Regions from separate parts of the Homo sapiens genome. Here region 1 is linked to region 2. Evidence: promoter capture Hi-C in 16 types of primary human blood cells and fetal thymus (Javierre and others, 2016). All regions are on one chromosome and are shown on one strand. Each heading gives the region's core, a stretch centred on a gene start or on the middle of the fragment in contact. The rest is flanking DNA. Distances are from core to core; before and after follow the strand shown. Region 1 overlaps LOC105375059 (a long non-coding RNA gene). Region 2 holds the start of H3C2 (H3 clustered histone 2).

Region 1 (6,868 bases), core at 2,090-4,589, about 16 Mb before region 2:
CCGCTCCTAAGTGCTAGAGCTGGGAACGGAACCCAGCTCATCTGTCTTTGGAGCCTGAGCTCTTTACCCATGCCTGTGGACAGCTTCAGCCTTCAGTGGCAGGGAGGCTGCTGGCGGAGGGCAGCTGCTTCCCTTGCCACCTTCTGCCATATCATGAGCAGGAAGGAAGATGAGGCAAGAAATAGCAGCCGACAGTGTGGCAACGGTGACCGTGGTGGTAAGGGTGTCCAACCCGGCAGAGGCGATGGGCAGACAAAAATGAGATGGGCACAGGAATTGTCTGAGCTGGAGGCAGCTGATAGATAGCACAGCTGTGCTCTCCACACCTCGCCCAGCATGGCCATCGCCGAACCCACTCCTCTCTCTCCCCTGATGTCACCTCCAGCTCTGCCTCTCTCTTCCTCTTTATGGCCACAGTTTCCTCTCCCCAGCTCTCTCTTCCACTCCTTCCCTGGCCACCCTCCACCAGGGAGGTCATCAGGTCTCCTCTCCAGCTGTGTCCTCCGTATTCCCATGCTTAGCATCATAGTAAGAGCAGCCACGATTTAGTGAGCACCTACCACATGCTAGGCACAGTGCTAGGGACTTTACAAGTTTGTAATCTTCTCTCCACAAACCTGTAAGCAATTTTTACCCCCATTTCATAACGGGCGGCCGGGCGTGGTGTCTCACGCCTGTAATCCCAGCACTTTGGGAGGCCAAGGTGGGCGGATCACCTGAGGTCGGGAGTTTGAGACCAGCCTGACCAACGTGGAAAAACCCCGTCTCTACTAAAAGTACAAAATTAGCCGGGTGTGGTGGCAGGAGCCTGTAATCCCAGCTACTTGGGAGGCTGAGGCAGGAGAATTGCTTGAACCCAGGAGGCGGAGGTTGCCGTGAGCTGAGATTGAGCCATTGCCCTCCAGCCTGGACAACAAGAGCAAAACTCTTGTCTCAAAAACAAACAAACAAACAAACAAAAAAAACTGAGGCTTAGAGAGGCTAAGAGATCTGTCCAGGGTTACACAGCTGGTGAGCAGTGAGGAGGAGATTTGGGCTCTGGTGTTAAGCCCACACACTTTCTGCCCTCCTTACCACCTTCCCCATGGGTTGGGTTGGCCTGAGTACAGTGGTTTCCTGAGCAGGGAAGGAGATACGCAATTGAGAAATGGTCAGTTCGAGGGAGGAATAAATTGGGTATGGTGAGAGAGACATTCACCTCCAACCTCATTTGGCATTAGGTGGGGGTGGAGTCGGGTGTCTTTTTTTTTTTTTTTTTTGAGATGGAGCCTCGCTCTCTCACTCAGGCTGGAGTGCAGTGGCGCGATCTCGGCTCGCTGCAAGCTCTGCCTCCCGCGTTCACGCCATTCTCCTGCCTCAGCCTACCGAGTAGCTGGGACTATAGGCGCCTGCCACCAAGCCTGCCTAATTTTTTTGTATTTTTAGTAGAGATGGGGTTTCACCGTGTTAGCCAGGATGGTCTCGATCCCCTGACCTCGTGATCTGCCCGTCTCGGCCTCCCAAAGTGCTGGGATTACAGGCATGAGCCACCGCGCCCGGCCTAGTGGTGTCTTAACCACCTGGAAGGCACTCAGACACTTGGGAAGCTGACCTGATGGAGGTGAAGGGCTGGAGACATGGATGAGGACAAGGCCCCTTTTTCACGCCTTTACCCATCAGCATCTTGGCACCAAAGAATGGGCTGGGATAGGAACTAGGGGAGGTTAGGCTGCTGTAACACAGACTCCAACAAGAGTGGCTTAGCAAAATGGAAATTTCTCCCATACAGATCCGGGTGGGTGATCTGACCCCTTGGTGGTGTTGAGGGCCCAAGCCCCTCCTGTGCCCTTGCGTGTGGGAGATGGCATCCCACCATGGCTGCTGGGTCCGTCAGCCAGCCAGTGGGGAGGGAGGAAAGTGACGAGAAAGAAAAGGCACTGCCCTTCCTTTTCAGAGCATGACCTCAAAGTTGCCAGATGACATCCCTTTGGTCACCAGCTGATCACATGCCACACTTAGCTGACAGGGAGTTTGGGGAACATACATAGTGGAGCTTCTAGTACCAAAGGTACAAGAAGGGAAAGTGGATTTTAGGGGACAGTTGGCAATCTTTGCCATGAGATCTAGATGAGAAGGGTATGGGGAGCCTGTGTCATGTGGGTGAGGATGGCTTTCCTATGGGGACCTGCTGGGAGAAAAATGTTCCCAGCTGGACTTCTTTTTGTGAGGGGCCTAGAGCAGAGGGACCAGAACCCCCTTGGCTAATGCCCTCACGCTGGACTCCCTCCCCTCTGGTCAAAGGTGGAGGGTCTGATTCTCCTTCGCCTTGACCAGAGGCCCCTTGGAGGTCATCATGGAGCCCTTCTTCCAGGAGCACCCTGTAGGATCAGGGTGAGGTTCATTGAGGAGCACCATATTTTCCCCTTGGCAGGGGGGCGGCGGGGGGAGAGGGTCTGTGCTGTTCTCTGATGAGGTAGAGGAGGGTCATGTCTCCATCCCTTAGAGAGGTCGTTGAGAAGGTCAAATGTAATGTGAGCAGGGTCGAGGCAGGGAGGTCAAGGTTTGTCAAAAATAGGGGAAAAAGAGGTTTATTTTCAAACGAGACCTAACAATTGACAGATAGCTTATCCCTTTGATCACCAGTTGGTCACAGGTCACATTTAGCTGACAGGGAGTTTGGGGAACATACGTAGTAGAGCTCTTCTCTGGAGGTGGGAATCTCCATGTGGCTAGAGGCTGACAGGCAGCCTTGTGGGTCCAGTGCTGACTCATTCATTCACTCACTCATTAATTCACTCATCCGCTCAGTGTCTGTTTATTAAGTGCTTACCATGGATACACCGGGTACCATGTTCCGTGTGTGTGAAAAAGGAAAGAACAAGATGGGCACAGTCCCTTACCTCTGTAGCTTATAAGCCTTGTTTTCCCTGGTTCCCTTTCTGCCTCCCTGGGGAGGAGAGACCAGGCCATCACAGCTCTGAGAGAGCCACCCTTGTGACTCAGAGCCCAAAAGGCCCTAAGGGAGCCCATGAATGCATCTGATAGGCCCTCACCTCTGAGCCCGCCATCGTGGGGCGGCCGGGGTGCAGGATGGGCCAGAGTGCCGGAGGGGAGGGCAGTGGAGCATTGGAGGTGCGGTTTCACTTCCCTCTCACACCAGGCGTGGAATCTGATTTTTCTCAGTTTGGTGAGGTGTGTGACTTCTTCTGTGAGCTGAGGGGAGATGTCTTCACTCACCCCTCCTCCAACTCTAGCTGTCCCTCCAGTGTTCCAGGTTGGATGGGATCTCTCCTTCCCATTCTTCCCATTACCCGTGGCCCTAGTTCACCAACTGCACCTCTTTGCTCCAGGAAAGAAGGTGGCGTGGCAATTGGAAATCTCTGTGGAGACACTTCCTCTGTGAGGCCTTGGTCTCTCAGACTTCTCCCTGGGGCTTGGCTTCCTGGGCCCCTCTTGGCCTTGCTGGAAGAGAGGTCCCCCTGCCCTGGCCTGCTCGGAGAGCTGTCAGGCTCCCTGTTTCCTCTCACAGTTAGATCCCAGACCTTCTGTCTGCCTGCGTGCATGGGTCACTCTCACTTTATTCCCCAAGGCATGGCCTCATGCAGGCCCTGCTTTCCTCCCTGGATTTCTTTTTTATTTTATTTTATTTGACTTTATTTTTTGAGATGGAGTCTCACTTTGTCACCCAAGCTGGAGTGCAGTGGCATGATCTCGTCTCACTGCAACCTCCACCTCCTGGGTTCGAGCGATTCTCCTGCCTCAGCCTCCCACGTAGCTAGGATTACAGGTGTGCACCACCACACTGGGCTAATTTTGTATTTTTAGGAGAGACGGGGTTTCTCTCTATTAGTCAGGCTGGTCTCGAACTCCTGACCTCAGGTGATCTGCCCTCCTCAGCCTCCCAAAGTGCTGGGATTACAGGCATGAGCCACTGCGCCCGGCCCCTTAATTTTGTATTTTTAGTAGAGACAGGGTTTCACCATGTTGGCCAGGCTGGTGTCAAACTCCTACCCTCAGGTGATTCACCTGTCTCAGCCTCCCAAAATGGTGGAATTACAAGCGTGAGCCACCATGCCTGCCCTGCTTGCCTGGACTTCTGAGTGGCCCCAGCCTCGCAATGTCACTTCATGCTTTCCTGCTACTGAACAGTGCCAGTGGCATGGCTAAGGAGAGGGACCCTCCTCATCACTGAGGGTGGACTGAGATCCTCACAAGATGCAGGTTCTCCTTCCATGTCACTGGAGGCGCATAAACCCCTCTGCCTCTTCCACACACCAGCTGTGTTATCAGGGTGAATTATTATTATTTTTTTTTTTTGAGACTGAGTCTTGCTCTGTCACCCAGGCTGCAATGCAGTGGCGTGATCTCCGCTCACTACAAGCTCCGCCTCCTGGGTTCATGCCATTCTCCTGCCTTAGCCTCCCAAGTAGCTGAGACTACAGGTGCCCGCCAACATGCCTGGCTAATTTTTTGTATATTTAGTAGGGACGGGATTTCACCATGTTAGCCAGGATGGTCTCCATCTCCTGACCTCGTGATCCACCTGCCTCGGCCTCCCAAAGTGCTGGGATTACAGGTGTGAGCCACCGCACCCAGCCATGGGGTGCATTCTTAACCTCTCTGTGCCTCAGTGCCCTTATCTGTAAGTTGGAGATAATAATAGTATCCACCTTACAGGGCTATTAGGAGGATTACATGAGTTGTTAGGAGGCTTTATGCACGTACAGCACTCAGAACAGTGCCTGGCCCTAATAAGTGTATGTATTAGGCTGTTATTGTGACACAGGTGTTTGCCTGATGTAAACACTGGCAAAACTTTTAGGCCCCAATGCTAGTATATCAACCTAGGGATATCTAAGCCAAATAAAATAATAAAACCTTCAGAGTCAGTCTTAACGTACAGATTCCCCCATTGTACAGTTAAGATGGTCAGTGACAGGGTCAGGACCCTGCTTGCATCCTGTATTTTTTGCTTTTAGTGTTGGATTTTGTACTTAGTGTTTAATAGATGATAGATGGCGGATGGATGAGTAGATACAGACTGGCATTCACAGGTACCCAAAGGATACGGCTACCCTAGTTATTATAATATTTAAATACTACCAGTTCTCGCTATTCTCACCAGTTATATTCTGTACAGTCACCACGAACACCAAACTGGTGAACACTGGCCCATTGCTCCTAGGGGAAATACAGGGTTAGGTTTCTGTGAGCCACTGGTCACAAGACTTTCATCAACTAATCAATACATAACTTTGTTTTCTGTGTGTTTCTGTTTGAAGACACCTTATTGAATATATAGTTAACTCATTAACATTGAACTCATGCCCCACAGCACGATACTTCATGCCCAAACAAACCTGATCTAATGTATTTTCTCTGTAAGGCGCATACAGTCATCTTGTACTTAGAAACATTCGCCAGCACGTCAGCCCTAGGCTCGGGGGCCATTTCAAACAGCGAAATCAACAAAAAACCCAGCAATGCAGAAAAGGTGGCACTAAGTAGACTGTGACAAGGACACTTGTTTACATTACGAGAGCTGAAACAGGCAGAGCACTGCCCTGTCCCACCTCAGCCAGGAACATGCATGTTGGGTGACTCAAATTTTTCATGGCTTTGCGCATGTCTGTGAAAGATGACAAAGCACCTCAAGTATTGATTTCGGGGTCACAAATTTTAGCAAGGAGGCAAATTCACAAATACAGACTCCATGAATAATGGGGATTGGCTGTACCCGTACATGGTCCCCCTCTTAGTCCTATCCCCACAAGATGCAGCCATCTGCATATCTACTGCCTGGCCCAGCATGGGGCCTCCAGCACCCCGAGCCAGCTCTTAGGCCAGCGCCATCCCACTTGTTGACTCTCCCATCTCTCTCCTGGTGGTATAAATGTTGCTGCCCTGGCTGCACTGGCGGAGGGGTGAGGAAGCCCTGCCCTGCCACCTTTCCCCTTACGCTACTTCCCCACTGCACATGGGGCCTCCCTTGCGAGCCAGACCCACGCATGTGTAAAGGAAGGCGGGATGACACACAAGCAGAGGCCACCTGTGACTGCTCCAGGCCAAGTGCTGCATCAACACCTGGGGAAGACCCCCTGGCGGTTGGGGGGAGCCTGTTTTGACCTGATCTTTATTTACCCCTCAAAGGAAGTAAATAAATAGCTCTTTGTTTCTCTTTGTGGATGTGCCTGTACCACACTGGATGTGCCCGCTGCACACCGTTAAAAACCATGACCCAGCCCCAGAGGAAGTGGTAATACAACGATTGTTTGTTTTATTTTCCATTTATTCTTACATCTCCTCCCCGCCTCCATCCTCCACCCTTTTTGTGTGTGCTGAGAGGTTTTCTTTACCAACCTGGGATCCAATCATTTGTTCATTCATTTCTTCATTCACTCATTCCAGTGTGTACTGAACCATCATAGTGCTAGATACTGGTAAATATGAAAGACATTATAGGAGAAAGTGAGGGTGCTTTGGCCTGTGGATTCAGGCCAACTTGGATTCGGATCCTTGGAACTGTTTCCTGGCAAGATGATCGTGGATCTCTCCCAGCAGAATCATGGGCAAACTTCAGCCTTGTGGAACTCAATCTGAAAATTGAGATCATACTGTCTCATCTCACACGACTGTTTCAAGGATTAAAGACAGAGCAGTGATTTCCCCATGGTCAGCACTTAATATGTGATGCTTGCTTCCTTTAAGCTAGCAAGGTGGTAACAAAGCTTGGAATTTCTTCTCCGTCTCTCTTCCCTGTGGCTGCCAGCCTCCTTCAGCCCTTTATGGGCACCCACCTGGATTACTGTACATTTCTAAAGCTCAGAGACTGTTAGAGGCTTCCCAAGGCCTGCAAAATCAAATTCACCTTCTGTTGGTGTTCTGTTCT
Region 2 (6,276 bases), core at 1,782-4,281:
CTGAGTGGGGAAGCCCCGCAAGGCTTGTCTGTCAAGATTCTTCTTGACCTCTCAGTGCAGCATTTCTTCCTTCTGGTTATAGGACAAGACTCTCTTTTAGAATGGGGGGTCTTATGACCTACAGGCAAACAAGGTAGGTTAGAGTAATACTTTTAGGTTTTATGGCTGGTTCTAGGGAAAAGGAGTTCTGGTTTGTATGGCCTACCTTGAGGAGGAATTCTGGTTTCTATGGCTAGACTTTGGGGAGAATGGGACTTACAGACAGGAAGGCAGAAGGTGGTCAGTGAAACACTTTTATAATCATAATCCCATTTTGAGTATTTCTGTGTTATGGAATGTTTGTTCTCTCATTTCCTGAAAGATTCCAGAGACTCCTCATTCAGTGTTGTGAAAAAGTTCAGGAAATGCAACTCAAAAATGTGCCACTTTGTTACGCTGATTTCTTTGAACTGAGGGCACCTAGGAAACAGTAAATTCAAGGAAGGGCTTTCGCTGAACTCTAATCAAAAATTTGAAAATTAAAAAAAAATTCAAAAAGGAATTTAGTTGTTAAGATTCACTTCCCTGGGGAATCTCATCAACCAGAGAAGATTAACTGTATCACAGGAGAGGAGACTGGTGGTTAACACCATCTAAACAGACTTTGTCACAGCTGTCACCTATTCTTTGAAACACCCATTTATTTTTCTCCAAAATCATATACTCTCCCCTAAGTTGCCTACATCCCCCTTCTTTCTCCCTTATGAATCAAGAGAGCTTATAAGCTTCTACAGTTCACTGGGATTTGGGGTATTCGCTTTTCTTCCCTCCCACTCCCCCTCCCCTTTTTTTGTCTTTGAGACACAGTCTTCTGGCTCTGTCGCCCACGCTGGAGTGTGGTGGCTCTATGTGAACTCACTGCAACCTCCTCCTCTCGGGTTCAAGCGATCCTCCCACCTCAGCTTCTCGAGTAACTGGAACTACAGGCGTGCACTACCAAGCCCGGCTTTTTTTTTTCTTTTTCTCCCCCGTTTCTTTTTTGGTTATTTTACTGGAGACAGGGTTTCTCCATGTTGTCCACGCTGGTCTCGAACGCCTGACCCGCCGTCCTCGGCCTCCCAAAGTGCTGGTATTACGGGCATGAGCCACTGCGCCCGATTTGAAGGACCTCTTAAATATCTATTTAGAAATTGGTCGGAGTCCACTCCTTTCCAAAAACATGAGTCACAATCCGGGAAAAGCACGAGCGGCTGAAAGTCAAAATAACCAGAACAAAACCTCCACTCATGCTTAAAAAAGGTATTTTGACAAAATCCTAATTCGGCCAATTATTATTAGTATTCAAGTCGAAGGCTCGTCAAGCCAGACTGGGGATTGGGTCAAACATAAACCTTACACCAGACGGAAGGATTACATGCAAATGAAGGATGCAGATTCTGATTTCCCATTGGGTATTTGACATTAGCCAATGGGAGAATTCCTCACAGCCTACCTCCAGTCAGTATAAATACTTCTCTGCCTTGCGTTCTAATGTAGTTTCATTACATTTTCTTGTGGCGATTTTCCCTTATCAGAAGTAGTTATGTCTGGTCGCGGCAAACAAGGCGGTAAAGCTCGCGCCAAGGCTAAGACTCGGTCTTCTCGTGCAGGTTTGCAGTTTCCTGTGGGCCGAGTGCACCGCCTGCTCCGCAAAGGCAACTACTCCGAGCGCGTCGGGGCTGGCGCGCCGGTGTATCTCGCGGCGGTGCTTGAGTACCTGACCGCCGAGATCCTGGAGCTGGCGGGCAATGCGGCCCGCGACAACAAGAAGACCCGCATCATCCCGCGCCACCTGCAATTGGCCATCCGCAATGACGAGGAGCTTAATAAACTCTTGGGGCGTGTGACCATCGCGCAGGGTGGCGTTTTGCCTAATATTCAGGCGGTGCTGCTGCCTAAGAAAACTGAGAGCCATCATAAGGCCAAGGGAAAGTGAAGAGTTAACGCTTCATGCACTGCTGTTTTTCTGTCAGCAGACAAAATCAGCCTAACAGCAAAGGCTCTTTTCAGAGCCACCTACGACTTCCATTAAATGAGCTGTTGTGCTTTGGATTATGCCGCCCATAAAGATGTTTTTGAGGTGTTTTTAATGGCTTTGAGTGTGGCACTTTTAGTAATTTGTCCTGCAGAAATTAGATCCATAGAAACCTCAGGAATTCTAGGTATGTGGGAGAAGTGCCATGCAGCACAAAACATGTTTACAGGGGTGATTCGCGTTAAGTTTCACACACAGCAGTTACTACATTTTAGAGGAAGGAAATTATACCCATGAGTGCATTCCTAACTATCTTGAATGGAAGTGTTAAAACCCGCATGCCCCACACAAGTTTGAATATGTCATACCATTTGCTGTAGCAATTAATGGCATACACAATTGAGAGCACACACATTACCACTGAACATTTGAGTATGTATTTCCCAAAATGAGCTTTTTTCCAGTTTGGGGATGTTTTGCTTTGTTTTGGGGTGGAGTCTCCCTCTCGCCCAAGCTGCAGTGCAGCGGCGTGATAACAGCTCACTGTAACCTCGAACTCGGGCTCAAGCGATCCTCTTGACAGCCTTCTGAGTAGCTGGGATTACAGGCGAGAGCCGCCACGCCCGGCTAAGAGCATTTTTCTAATTGCCCACACTTCTTATGCGACACCCAGAAAAATACAATTTTAAATAAAGCGCATATGCAAATTTCCCTAATCGTCTCCAATATTCTCTGATTTCTTTTTTATATTTTAACTAGAAACAATTGGAGGTTTCCGCGTTGCTTTGTGTGGTTGTAAATTTTAAGACTTCAGGAAACTTTTCCAGTACAAGACTTGTCCACAGTGGATATAGCAGCTAAGGGGTTAACAAAATGACGTCAGAGTAGCTACGGTAATGGGCAGGAGCCTCTCTTAATCTGCAACCAGGCACAGAGATGGACCAATCCAAGAAGGGCGCGGGGATTTTTGAATTTTCTTGGGTCCAATAGTTGGTGGTCTGACTCTATAAAAGAAGAGTAGCTCTTTCCTTTCCTCCACAGACGTCTCTGCAGGCAAGCTTTTCTGTGGTTTTGCCATGGCTCGTACTAAACAGACAGCTCGGAAATCCACCGGCGGTAAAGCGCCACGCAAGCAGCTGGCTACCAAGGCTGCTCGCAAGAGCGCGCCGGCTACCGGCGGCGTGAAAAAGCCTCACCGTTACCGCCCGGGCACTGTGGCTCTGCGCGAGATCCGCCGCTACCAAAAGTCGACCGAGTTGCTGATTCGGAAGCTGCCGTTCCAGCGCCTGGTGCGAGAAATCGCCCAAGACTTCAAGACCGATCTTCGCTTCCAGAGCTCTGCGGTGATGGCGCTGCAGGAGGCTTGTGAGGCCTACTTGGTAGGGCTCTTTGAGGACACAAACCTTTGCGCCATCCATGCTAAGCGAGTGACTATTATGCCCAAAGACATCCAGCTCGCTCGCCGCATTCGCGGAGAAAGAGCGTAAATGTAAAGTCACTTTTTCATCAGTCTTAAAACCCAAAGGCTCTTTTCAGAGCCACCCACTTATTCCAACGAAAGTAGCTGTGATAATTTTTTGTTGTCTTAACAGAACAAATTTCTAAGGACCCCCCCGGAAAGCATTAGACTATGGTCTTAAAGTTGATTAACAGAAATAACGGTTTGGTCAGTCTTGCAGTGTAGGTTATTTCTGACCTTATTAAGGTGCTATTTGGAGAGAAGCTGTGTAAGTCCACTATCATTCAGGCCTCTAGCTTGCTATGATTAGCATTTGTTTAAACAACTTTGTAAGAGTAAGGGAAAAATCTGGTAAGTAGTTAACTGGCGCTTACTAGGCATTTTTGCAAAGCTTTGAAAAGATTAGAAAATTGTGTCTTGCGAGTTCCAGTGTCTTCCTCAAAATGCTTAGGAAGATTTTCTCAGCTCAATACATAGTCCCCTAGGTTTTCTCATATATTATATATATATATATATATATATATACTGTTAAATTCATTTGGCTGTTAACATTAACCTGAAATTTATTCTGGTGCAAAATGTGAGGCAGGGATCTAACTGGCTCTCATTTTATCCATAGCTAGCTACCCACTTTAAATCTGTCAGTCTGTCGACCAAGCATAATTTAATCCCTTATATATGAATTTTTATATGTGTGGCTTTGCTTGTAAATAGTCTATCTGGTTGCATTGCTTTGTCTCCTCTAGGACTATGCACCATGACATGCCACATTCTTTTTTTCAGTACTTCTTGCCTGTAGTTATTAAAATCTAGAATTTACAAGTTTTAACCATTTTCTTTCTGTTGATCTTGCTTTTCGGTTTTGGAGGTTGGGGATTGAGTACTGGAAGAAAATTTAGAGGGATGGGAATACTGTACGCAAACAAAAGTAATATTTACTTTAAAATTTTTATATTTTGTATTTTTTTATCATATAGCTTTTACATCACATTTTACAGACTAACTTTAGAACAACCACAGAATGTCCAACATTAAAACTACTAATTCCAAAGACCTTGCCTCACATTCTTTTTTACAATAAATATTTTTTACACCTAACATTCTTTCTTGGCCTACATCTAGAATGTAAACTGATGTACCATACTAAAATCGCCTGACCAACTGTCAACAACAACAAATCACACACACAAAAGATTAAATTTGAATTGCATCGTTTACTTAAATTCATTTGTGTTCCAGCTTTTAATAAGGCAGTTTTTGGTTTATAAAGTAATATTTGCATTTTAAAAATTATGAAAATGAATATGTCAGTTTGTTTTATGATTCGTTTTTCTTGACTCTTATACAAGCGACTCTAACTGGCATAGACATTTGTTATCCACAGACAGTATAGATATGTTAGAGATGCCAATGGACTTGGTCTATGCCAAGGTGACTACTCACAAGCTCTGGGCCCAGCTGAAGGTCAAGTATTTTTTTTCCAGTTATAGATGTGCTGGATCTGATGTATAGCGCTTGACTTTTTATATTTTCTTTATCTGTAGGAAACAAATGTGTTGGAGGTACTGGGTCTGACGAATAGCATAAAAGAATAAAGTTACATTACTGTCTGAGGATCAGATGGACAGGGGGTGGTAGCTCAGTCCAGCTATTTTCCACTCCCTCACTTACATTCTTTGCCCCCTCCTCAACAGAACAAGGATTCTGCTGTAACTCTTCATTGACAGTTGATATTTAAAAATTAACGAATGGATGAAATTCTCATTTGTGAAAGAAAATTTATTGAGCATTTTGTATTTGTGAGTAGTGCAAACATTTTAATATTATATTAAGAATCTATTGTTTTGTATTAGAGGAGTAATTAAGGAGAGATTGGAGACAAAAAGGGGGTGTTGTTTGCAGAATATACCATCCAAAAATAGACCACTGTGGGATCAGGATTCTTTTGAGCTAAAGGCACTTCAAAAACAGCATTCAAGAAGGGAATTCTTCTAAACTTTTCTTTCTGAAAACAGGAGATAAAAGTTCCAATGTGAAAAATGCTCTGCTTGTACCAGGTGAAAAGACATATTCTTCAGCCCAGAGGCATAGATGAGATAATTCTGCACAAACACAGCAGGGAGTCATAGCCGAGAGACTTCTATACACAAACAAACCTTGTTAAAATAATCATATATTCCTTTAATCTCCTCATATGGTTTACTTTCCCACAATTGCCTCTCTTTAACTTAATGTGAAAGCATTTAGCTTTTGCCATTTCTTTGGGGCTTCACTTTTTTATGAGGGTTCTCCTGTCCCATAAAATTTACATTAAATACATTTGTATGCTTTCATTCTGCTAATCTGTTTTATGGCAAATGAATTATCAGGTCCAGCTGGAGACCCTAACAGAGTAGAGGTAAAATTTTGCCTCCCTACAAGATAGAGATTGTGTGCATTAAATGTTGTTTGTTCCCAGTTGTTCAGTTTGTCAGGCCTCTGAGCCGAAGCTAAGCCATCATATCCCCTGTGAACTGCACGTATGCCTCTAGATGGCCTGAAGTAACTGAAGAAACACAAAAGAAGTGAAAATGCCCTGTTCCTGCCTTAACTGATGACATTACCTTGTGAAATTCCTTCTCCTGGCTCATCCTGACTCAAAAGCTCCCCCACTGAGCACCTTGTGACCCCCACCCCTGCCAGCCAGAGAACAACCCCCTTTGACTGTAATTTTCCACTATCTACCCAAATCTTATAAAACGGACCCACCCCATCTCCCTTCGCTGACTCTTTTCGGACTCAGCCCGCCTGCACCCAGGTAGAATAAACAGCCTTGTTGCTCACA

The links. The method cuts DNA at HindIII sites, captures the fragments that hold promoters and counts their contacts. A CHiCAGO score of 5 or more calls a contact.
Region 1: a fragment that was not itself captured here is called in contact with the fragment with the promoter of H3C2 in region 2 in 1 of 17 cell types (erythroblasts); the score reaches 5.9 in erythroblasts.

Annotation. Positions count from the first base shown.
Region 1 is chr6:42,021,831-42,028,698 of GRCh38, reverse strand. LOC105375059 (a long non-coding RNA gene) reads right to left here. Exons shown (of 5, transcript XR_001744119.2): 5 at 6,459-6,575. It also overlaps a transcript of CCND3 not described here. Among named protein-coding and RNA genes, the nearest start is that of TAF8, 25 kb to the left of the region's middle. RefSeq lists enhancers at 25-74, 1-108, 1-148, 135-194, 435-494. The HindIII fragment of the contact is 6,741 bases long and covers 1-6,709 here.
Region 2 is chr6:26,028,854-26,035,129 of GRCh38, reverse strand. H3C2 (H3 clustered histone 2) reads left to right here and starts at 3,031. Exons shown (of 1, transcript NM_003537.4): 1 at 3,031-3,541. The coding sequence starts at 3,070. The coding sequence ends at 3,480. H2AC4 (H2A clustered histone 4) reads left to right here and starts at 1,512. Exons shown (of 1, transcript NM_003513.3): 1 at 1,512-2,038. The coding sequence starts at 1,562. The coding sequence ends at 1,954. RefSeq lists enhancers at 595-654, 985-1,034, 1,438-2,067, 3,005-3,124, 3,165-3,394 and 2 more and a silencer at 1,555-1,654. The HindIII fragment of the contact is 2,287 bases long and covers 767-3,053 here.